2 separate regions of the Homo sapiens genome follow, and region 1 is linked to region 2. Evidence: promoter capture Hi-C in 16 types of primary human blood cells and fetal thymus (Javierre and others, 2016). All regions are on one chromosome and are shown on one strand. The core of a region is centred on a gene start or on the middle of the fragment in contact, and the rest is flanking DNA. Distances in the headings are between cores, read along the strand shown.

The links. The method cuts DNA at HindIII sites, captures the fragments that hold promoters and counts their contacts. A CHiCAGO score of 5 or more calls a contact.
Region 1: a fragment that was not itself captured here is called in contact with the fragment with the promoter of PPP2R1B in region 2 in 3 of 17 cell types (naive CD4 T cells, fetal thymus and naive CD8 T cells); the score reaches 6.2 in naive CD4 T cells.

What each region holds. Positions count from the first base shown.
Region 1 is chr11:111,527,802-111,533,250 of GRCh38, forward strand. All of the region lies in intron 3 of HOATZ (HOATZ cilia and flagella associated protein), which reads left to right. Among named protein-coding and RNA genes, the nearest start is that of LAYN, 10 kb to the right of the region's middle. The HindIII fragment of the contact is 5,067 bases long and covers 1-4,188 here.
Region 2 is chr11:111,762,574-111,768,002 of GRCh38, forward strand. PPP2R1B (protein phosphatase 2 scaffold subunit Abeta) reads right to left here and starts at 3,816. Exons shown (of 15, transcript NM_002716.5): 1 at 3,675-3,816; 2 at 2,721-2,811; 3 at 2,232-2,332. The coding sequence starts at 3,788. RefSeq lists enhancers at 2,842-3,745, 3,632-3,811, 3,832-3,881. The HindIII fragment of the contact is 3,920 bases long and covers 603-4,522 here.

The DNA.
Region 1 (5,449 bases), core at 405-2,904, 240 kb before region 2:
CCAAGATGCATACTGCTTTTTGAAACCAGGCCCAAATATGAGATGTTTTAAAATGATAAATCAATAAAAACCTTAAGTCAATCATAATTCTCACCTTCCTAATGATTGCATTTGTAACATAAAAATGAAATGGAACCCACTGAGGAGTGAGATTCTTGCAGAATGTGAACTGAAATTCCCTAGTACACCTATAGACAGTTAACTCTCAATCACTGGGATAGAATTAAAAATTAAGGCTAGGTATGGTGGCTCATGCCTGCAATCCCAGCACTTCAGGAGGCTGACCAAAGTGGGAGACTGGCTTGAGCCCAGGAGTTCAAGACTAGCCTAGGCAACACAGGGAGACCTCATCTCTACCAAAAAAAAAAAAATCGTTTTTTAATTAACTAAGCGTGGTGGCATGTGCCTGTGGTCCCAACTACTTGGGAGGCTGAGGTGGGAGGATTGCTTGAGCCCAGGGGGCAGGAGGTGGAGGTGGCAGTGAGCCCTGATGGTGCCACTGCACTTCCACCTGAGTGGAGAGCAAGACCCTGTCTCAAAAAAAAGAAAATTAAATTCTGGAGGCTCAAGGAAATAAAAATCAGATAATGTTCTCAATTTCTGTTAAACCATAGAACCTTGGCTCTGCCTAGGTAATATTCTGAATTTGGAATGTAATTCCCATTTTACAATTAATTTATAATTTAAAATCCTTGCATAAATATTTCATTTACACTACGATCTTAGAAAGCTCCTCAGTTTATAAATACCACTATAATTCAACTATCTTTACCCTTTAGCCACATCTTGCAAAGAGCCACATGATACCTTCAAATAAGTAAATTAACTATGATCAAGGCTGAGCTCAAGCTGGATTAGCTCCACCTGCTGTATTCTGATAAGCATGCGTTTTCTACAAGAATAAGAATGTTTCTGTGAGAGCAGAGACTATATTTTTCTTCTTCAGCATGGTTGATGCTAACTCATTTTTAGAGTAAAGATTGAATGAAGAAACCATTCTGTCACTCTGTGTGTGTGTGTGTGCATGTGTCTGAAGTCTGTGTGTGTTTGAAGTCTGTGTGTTTGAAGTGTGGCAAAAGAAGCACAGGAAATGACATCCAACAGAACTGGAAATGAGTTTAAATCTTTGGCTCTGCCAGTTACTAGTTAGTTAAGTGACCCTGATAAAAGTTGTTCATTTTTACGTGGTTTAGTTTCTTCTACCTGTAAAGAGGTAATAATAATAATGCCCACTTCACTGTGCTATAAAGATAAAATGAGATAACCTATAAGGAACTCACACAAGGCCTGATATCTAGCAGTTACTCAGTGAAAGTTTGTTTTTATCTTCTCTGCTTCCCCCTCTTCCTTTTTTTTCCAAACCCATGATTGAAAAATAAAATTTTAGCAGGTTCAAAATAAGCATTAGCATTAAATGGAAATGCTTTGACTAAAAGGGTAACTCTCAAAGGATGATGACTAGATTACTAAAGGCATGATCACTCAAGTATCCACATCCTGATTAAAAGACAGAAGATTGGCTTGCTCATAGTGTTAAAATGAGACTCATATTATTTTCTCTTAATCTTTTTCTTTTTTTTTAAGACAGAGTCTCACTCTGTCGCCAGGCTGGAGTGCAGTGGTGCAATCTCGGCTCACTGCAACCTCCGCCTCCTGGGTTCAAGCGATTCTCCTGCCTCAGCCTCCCGAGTTGCTGGGACTGCAGGCGTGCACCACCACACCCAGCTAATTTTTGTATTTTTAGCAGAGACGGGGTTTCACCATATTGGCCAGGATGGTCTCGAACTCCTGACCTCATGATCCTCTTGCCTCAGCCTCCCAAATGCTGAGATTACAGGCATGAGCCACCGCACCCGGCCCCTCGTGTTATTTTTGATGAATGTTTCAGTCCAAAAATTTCAATCATAATCCACGAAAGAAATGCAGTTTGTATATGGGAACCAGGTCTTGAGAAGAAAGGACCTTTCTTCTAAAGTCTAGTGTTTATTAAGAGCTTTTTTTATAATTGAATATTAACTGAAAAGAAAGTTGATAACACACCAGAAAATTCGTGGTCAGAAGAATTTGCACTGCATATTTAATAACAAATCATATCTTTAACATCTCTCCTTGTTTCTCCTTTCCTCCCTCAAACTGTATTCACCAACTGACCCATAGGTCAGAGGTTGAATCGTAAGAATTCCTTCATGCCTGTAGACAAAAAGCAGACAATCTGTCCTCTTTTTTCTTACTCTTTTCAAGATTTTAAAAGCACTGAAAGAAAAATTTTCTAATAATAATAGTGTTATAATAACTACCATTTATTAAATGTTCACCATCTGTCATGCATTTCATTAAGTAATTTTTATCTCCAATTTTCACAACAACCTTCCTCACAGATTAGAAATCCACAACTGGGATTGTGGATTCTTTGGTTTACCTAAGATCACGAAGCTCTAACTTACATGTCAGTGATTACTGCATAGTTGTGGTGGGGAAAGGAGGAACCAGGCGGGAGAGTTAAGCTAGAACTTGCCATTCAACACACAGCGGAACTGGGATTCAAACCAAATGTATTTGACTCTACTAATACATATTGCCACTCAAGTCATTTGGCTCTGAAAAGCCAAAAAGAGAGAACCAGACAATTTAACTCTTGAGGTGACATTAAAATTCATTAACCATCTATAACACATTAAATGTATATGTTATATCACATCCTAATTTTCTGGAATCAGTTTTCTTTCACAATTTATTTTTTCAGGAATAGTATAAATATAAATCATAAATAAAAATATAAATATAAGTCACTAGTCAATGGTCAAAGATGTTATAAAGATAAATTCTGACCCCCTTGTATTAACAGTTAATTGAATAATTATAAAGTCTTATAAAATTCCATTAATAAGCCCAACCAAAACACTATAATTAGAAATGAAAATTTTTTGTTAATATGAAATTAAGAAGTAAGTTATGCTTCCTTACTAATAATATAAGTTATAAGGATCTTCTCTTACCAGTGAATTGTATTTAGCTTTCCTGGCAGAGATTTCCTAGAATATTCCACAATGTTTTTGTTTAGATGACACAATTGTTTACACTAGTTTTGTTATTTATTTCCAGGAAACATGTCCAGGAGGCAGAAATCAGATCATATTTGAAATATTTGTTTCTAGTGCATTATGTGATATGTGATATTTAAAGGCACCAAAGTCCTTTATAATAAAAAATAACTTGAAGTCAAGGAAAAAAATGAATGAATATATTTGTTATTCTACTATTATTTTTGAATCTTGTAACTAAATATTTGTCTTTTTATATGAGAAGCACAGGACAATATAACTGGTCCATGATTTCCCAATAGTTACACAGAAAAATTCATATAATTTTGTTCATAGGGGATTTTTAAAACTAAATTTACCCACTGTTTAATTTCATTTTCCAAAACTTTTTGTTTTTTGCTTAGGCCAATAACTGTGGATTACACAGTACAATGATTGCATTCATACATCATGACTCAATCAATTCAATTCAATTCAACAAAAATCCATTGAGTATCACATACAAAGCACTGCTAAGCTCTAAGGAAGGATAAAGAGATGAGTAAGGTTCTGAAAGAGACATGGTGGCAACTAAGAGACAAAGCAGGAACAGTAAGATCAATACCATAATAAAGGTATAAAGTGCTATGTAATCACAGTATGAGAGCAATTAATACTGATTGAATACATGTGTAATGGAAAAGTTGGAAAAGAAACTAACATTGAATACCTGCATTGAAAATATCCCAGGTCTTTAAGGACATTATTTTATTCAATCTATGCAAGTTGACAGATATTGTGAAACAGTTTTCAAATGTACTCTGAATTATTTTCTTTCAGTAACTGTGATATATGATGCCTAAAGCTCAAGTAAAACGTAGAAATCCTATCTCAAAATAAATAAAATTAAAACTTTGTAGGCTTATAAAAGGCAAGATTCATACCACTTAAACAGAACGATGCAAAGCCAAGGCACCCAGTTCACCAGCCAAGACACTGATTACAGCTGCCCAGCGTGGGCCCCTTCTCTGTGTGTCTTGATGAATCATGCCTGAGGTTTCTAGCTTCTTTAGCAGATGAGCCATCAGGACTGGGGAACCACCCTGAGAAGTACTTAGCCACCCAGCAGCTTCTGGGGCTTTGCACACGCTGTTTCCTCTGCCTTAAAAGCTTTCTTCCCCATCTTGTCTCCAACATTATCTGACAACTACCACTTTCAGGTCTAAAGCATGGACATCACCTCCCCTGGGACATCTTCTGAGTCCCCACCCCTACTCCACACACACACCTTTGTCTTAATTAAGGGTCCTTGATCTTCAGTTCGTTCATCGTACCCTATATTAACCCCACATAGCACACTTGAAACTATTGTCTTCTGCTACATAAGTCTGCAGTCACCTTACAGGCAGAAACTGTGTTATGTTCAGCCACTAACACATAATGTTACATCATAGGCGCTTATTATGGGTTGAAATACGCCCCCCCACATGCAAAAATTACATTGACGTTCTAACCAGCAGTACCTCAGAATGTGACCTTATTTGGAAACAGGGTCTTTGCAGATGAAATTAGTTAAGATGAGGCCATAGTGGAGTAGGTTGTGCACCTAATCCAGTCTGATTGGAGTCCTCCTAAGACAATTGCCACGTGAAGACAGACACACAGAGAGAATGCCATGTGACAACAAAGGCAAAGATTGGGGTTACGCAAACCAAGGAATGCCACAGCTTGTCAGCAAACCACCAGAAACTAGAAAGAAGCAAAGAAACCCTATAGGTTTCAGAGGGAGCAGGGCCCTACCAATACCTTGATTTCGGACTTCTAGTTTCCCGAACTGTGAGACAATAAATATTGTTTTAAGCCACGCAGTGTGTGGTACTTTGTTACAGCAGCCCTAGGAAGGTACTCAATAAATTTAGATAGATGACAGAATCTGCACCTGGCTATGACAAATCTGTGTCTATTCTCACTTCTTATTTCTTTCTTGCAGCTTGATCTAAAGAGAATTTATGTGATTTTATCTGGCCATTTGAAGTTACAAGTTTTATTTGTTAGATGCTAGATTATCAGGATTTCCTTTTTTTCTCAAATACACCAGATGTGATTTTCCGCCTGGCTATCTCCAAAACTTAATATAGATGAATTCTGTGAAAAAAATGGAACCTATATTTGCCTATTTTTATAGTTTATATATTGATAAATCTTCATGCCTGCACTAAGTTAGTTTTTTGCACTTAGGAAAACTTACCTGAGAATGTGCAGGTCTCAATATCTAAGCTAGAAATAGGAGAGACGAAAGAATAAGGCTTTGTTGCCCTGTGCAAGCGGCATGCTGTTTGAGCTTGCTAATCCTGCTTCTTGCCACCATTAGTGGCAATTTAGTGTGATGGTCAATAGCTTGAACTTTGTTGCTAAATGGAGCTAGGATC
Region 2 (5,429 bases), core at 2,566-5,065:
GAGACAGGGTCTTGCTCTGTTGCCCAGGCTGAAGTGCAGTGGCACAATCATGGCTCAGTGCGGCCTCAGACTCCTCGTCCTTCTGCCTCAGCGTCCCGAATAGCTAGGACTCAGACACATGACATCATGCCCAGCTATTTTTTTTTAAGTGTTGGGGTCTCACTATGTTGCCCAGGCTGATCTTGAACTCCTGGCCTCAAGCAATCCTCCTGCTGCTTTGGCCTCCCAAGGCAAGGATTACAGGTGTGAGCCACCACACCCAGCCACACTCCGGCAGTTTTGAACCCAGCCTGTTTCATGCTTCCAAGCCTCTGAAACTCATTTTTTCAATACATTATTATTGGTATATTCTAGCATTGAGGACACAGAAGAAACAAGGCAGACAAGGTTCCTCACTCTAGTGGCATTTACATTCTAATGGAGTAAGACAACAATCAATCAAGAAAATAAGTAGATGGTGATGAGTACTCTATAGAAAAAAGGAGTAGGATGATGTAGTAAGGGATGACTGTGAGGCTATTTTAAGTTGAGTGGTTGGGGAAAACCTCCCTGAGGAGATGCATTGAAGTTGATCCCTGAATGACAAGGAGCCAGCCACAGAAAGCTTGAAAGAGCTTTTCATTAGAGGGAAGACCTAGGGCAAAGGTCCTAAGGGAATAATGAGCTTGGTTAGTTCAAAAAACAGAAAGATGACCAATGTGAATGGAAGAGGTTATCAAGGCCTTTTGCAGTCTGTTCCCTGCCTACTGTCACCTCTTCTCATGCAGTACCACTGGGCATATGATAATCCTACAGAGGCGGGTCATAAAAAGCCTTGTAAGCTAAGGTACAGAATTTGGATTTTCTAAGAGCTATAGCAGAGAGTGAGCCATCTGCTGGGTGATGTGAACTGTAAGAGTCGGGTGAGAGGCAAGAGTGGAAAGCATTGCTAGGAAGCTACTACAGCAATCTAGAGGAAAGATGACAGTCTGGACTAGGCTGGTAATAGGAGGGATGGAAGAAAGTGGACTTATTTGAAATATACGTAGACTCTATAGGAATTACTAATGGATTAGATGTGTGGAACAAGGCACAGAGGATTCAAGAATACATTCTAGGTTTTGGCTTGTGCAAGTGGGAAGATAGTGATACCATTTACTGAAGTGGAACAACTAAATGAGAGGTGTATTTGGGGGATAAAGCTAAGTTTTGTTTTGGGTATGTTAAGTTTGAAATACCTGTTTGACATACAAGTAGAAAAAAGCATAGGCCTATATACATAGACAGAAAAAAAACTCTCTCTCTCTCTCTCTCTCTATATATATATATTCATACTTATCTATTAATCAATCTACCTCAGGAGTTCCATGGAAAAGTCAGAACTAGAGACAGAAATCACAAGAATCAGTATTACATACCCAGTATTCAAAGCTCTGACACATACACCCCTACCTTGTCCAACTGTTGAATTCCTGGTCATCCTTTAAAACCTAGTTCAGACATCATCTCCCAAGGTCTTCCCTGATCACCCGGAGTGAATCCCTTTCTCCCTTCTATTACGTGGGTATTTTGTGGGTACTTATATCTTTCCATTTACGACTGCACGGTAATTATTTGCTGACACATAAAGGCAGTGACCTCATTAGATTCATTTTGGTGGTCTTTTTTTTTTTTTAAGAGATGGGGGTCTCACTATGTTGCCCAGGCTGGATTCAAACTCCTGGGCTCAAGTGATCCTCCAGTCTCAGCCTCCTGAGTAGCTGGTACTACAGGCTTGTGCCACCAAGCCCCCTCACATTGGTCTTCTTCAACATTAACATTGTAAACTATGATGTGTCTGATAAAGTAGACTCTCAATAAATGTCAATTAAATTGAACTAAATTCATCAAACTCACAAAGTCAGAAGCAAAAGTTAAACTGACAAAGACAAAATGCTGCTAGGTGAGAATTAAAACTTCCACCATCGCGCGGGGGAACCATAAAAACAATCAAACCCTTTTTCTCCCTACATCTAAACTAATAAGTCTACAGACGCAGAAAAGGAGGACGAAGTTCTCTTATTTACAGAAAAAAAAAAAAGGAGTTGAGTGCAAAGTGCCTACAGTACTTATTCTCTCAATGACTAACATTATGACTATCTGCCCATAAAAAGATCTGCATAAAAAATGCTGCAGTGTGTCTATCACCAAACAATGTATCATTTATACTGCAAAAGTTGTAGAAGGAGGGTAGGCAGCTTATAAATACTCACCAGCAGACAGTGGGCAAAGTCAGGACCTCCCACTAGGCCAGTGAAATTTCCCAGCTGCTCAGCAAGAGCTAATAGTACCTCATCTTCATCATAAATTGTATCTGGAAGTGACAACAACAGGACTCATCAACATGGATAGCTCTCCCACAGCTGGACACTGACACAAAACTAGGAACAGATTCACTATGCGACCAGGAAGGTGACCCAGTCAAAATCCTAACAGCATTTTCTTTCTTCTCAACCGTCTTCCTGTATCTGCTTTGCACAACGAATTAGAAATTCATACTCCCGTATCAATTACTTTCAATAGCTAAATGGTTGATGTTTGAATATATCTAGCCACAACTAACAATATACTCTGTTCTGTTTCTTTTGCACAAAAAACACCTGGCTCATTTTAATGTGGGTAATAAACTCTAAAAAAGTCAGTGTTGAAAGCTACTGGAAAATGGAATGTCCCTACCTTTCTTTAAACAAAGATTCACATACCTGTAAGAAATGGCAACAATTCACTTCGGGTCCTTTCTACTCCAAGTGCTAGGGCAATTGTTGATAACTTCTTAATACTGTTGAGTCGGAGCTTCAGAAAAGAAAGTAGAAAGAAGAACAATGTAAAGAAACGGCTGAATTTAGATCAAAAGACAAAAGGTGCTAACAGGTGAAATTATGACACAGGGGTAAGAATGAAGATAACCTTTCATTTAGATTTTACTGTTAAGGAAGCTCATAAGGACTTCCAAAAAGAAGTGTAACTCGGCCTCACTAGCCGGCGGAGGATTTCCCAGGAGAAACACTCAGAAGGGACCGGAAGAGAAATGAAGGAAAGACAATACAACACCTAGGAAGTAAGATAATTTTAAAAAGAGAGCACTTTGGCAGTGGTGAAGCAGGTGAAACGGTTGAATACAACACCTGTGGTTTCAAAGAAAAGTTCCCACAGAGCGGATACACTACTCGTCCAGATTAATCGGCCATCCCACCCCCGCTTTCTACCCAACAAGCCGAGCCAGTTCCAAGCCGAGATGAAGGGATCCAGGGGCACTTCAAAGGGCTTCTGGGCATCCTGCGCCCCTCAGCCGCTCCAGCCCCGTCTCGGCCTGGCACCGCGCTTCTCCTGCTCCCTCGCCCAAGAGACGCGGCCACCTCACGGCCCGGATGGGGCGCCCAGGCGGGAAGCGGGTTCCCCGACAACCGCCCGGGAAGGGCAAGGCTCCGGGCGGACGCCTCAGGGGGTCCGAAGCAAGGTTACTAGAGAGGTACCCGGGAGGGTCGGGGCGTGTCACCACAGCCCCTCGCGGAGCATTCCCCGCCTCCCCTTCAAGTTTCTGCTACGAGTCCGACTCATTCAGTACCTCGGCCACCCCCACCGCGACGCAGGCCTTCCCCCTTCTCTACCACGCGACCAGCCGGTCTCGCCTCGGGTCCCCGGCCTCAGTCCAGTACCTGCACGTCTTCATTGCGGAGCTCGTCGATTAAAACCGCGATCGGGTATAGCGAATCATCTCCATCTCCACCCGCTGCTCCTGGGCCGGTCCCGAGCTCTGATGCGCCCGCCATGTTCTTTCTCCTCCTGCTGCTGGTCACCGCCTCCCGCCCCGCGCCCAGGCCCCGCCCCGCGCCCAGGCAGTAGGGACGAAGGCCGCCACGCTGGTTTAGCCGAAGTTGGGGAGCCGCGTTTCTGTCCCGATGATTAAGGCTCCCTTCTGACCCCCACTGCAGGAGTTGTAGGTCTGAACTCAAGAAGACGGGTGGGCTAAGAAAGCGAATGGAACCCCTGCGTCCTTTCCCCAGCCGAAAGAAACAGGGACAGGGATTCATCCAGCTCGTTGTAGTCTGAAGGAGCCAGGAACCTACCTGAATGATCTGCGCTGTGCCCTCTTAAGACTCAGGCGGACCAAAGAGAGTGCCCGAGGCCAGGAGGAAAAAGGCTTTAGCACCTCCCCTGACTTCTTCCTGGCCCTGAGCCACTGGATCTCCAGCCCTAATTTCTCCGCTCAGACTCAAACTTCCACAGAACCCCTCCACCTCTTCCCGCGGCTCTTTCTCCAGAATGGTATCTGGCTCCTGCTCCGTAAGACAAATAACGCGGGCGGTGAGAGAAAATGAACAGTGCTGTCCAAACTCCCCAGTCAATATTTTTTCCACGCAAGCTGTTAAAAACATGCTGCTCTCTTGTTTTTGTGTTTCTTTTCAGTTTGGTACTGGAATGGTGCCTTCTGTTGTATTTTCTTCCTCCCATTTTTTAGCTCTTTAGCATGCTAGAAGTACAACAATGAAGCAAAACTAGGACAAGCTTTAATCCTTCCAAATTGGGTGGGGTGGCTACTTTCTTGAGCAAGAAAACCCAAACTGGCCTCCCTAGACCTCCAAGAGTCCTCAGAGGCAGCAAGGGGAAGAGGTGGAGGTCTGGGAGCTCGTTCTTACAAACCTGAATGGAAAGTTTTCACTTACCCCTGTCAGGGTAGCACAGAATAATTAGAATGTTTTGTTTGTTTTAGACTGGAATTTAAGCAGCTTGGAGTGATAACTACATATGGTGATCACAAGCTCCGAAATGGTAATTCTATGTGCCTGATTAATAAAACTATAAATGCAGTGTAGGAGACAAACTTTTTTAAAACATGGGATTCTGAGGCCGAGGCGGGCGGATCACTTGAGGCCAGGAGTTCGAGACCAGCCTGGCCAACTTGGTGAAACCCTGTCTCCACTAAAAAATACAAAAATTAGCTGGGCTGGTGACGGGAGCCTGTAGTCCCAGCTACTCGGGAGGCTGACATGAGAATCGCTTGAGCCCGGGAGGCAGAGGTTGCAGTGAGCCAGGATCGCACCACTGTACTCCAATCTGGGCGGCAGAGTGAGACCCCGTCTCTAAAATAAATAAATAAATAAATAGCGTTCTTGGAAGTAAGCACAATAGAGCCTTTGAATGAATGAATGAAATAATGAATAAATAAATAAATAAATAAATAAATAAATAAATAAATAAATGGGGTTCTTGGAAGTAAGCACAATAGCTAGAGCCTTTGATAGTAATGAAAGTTTGGGAACCAGCAGACCTGAACAGTTTTTCTCAAATTATGTCTGCGAATGTATTCTCTAGGGTTTTAATTTTATTTTCATTTTCATATTTTTTAGATTTGTATAAGCATATTCTGAATTATTTGGGTGACCACCTTACAACCAAGTATTGCCACACAA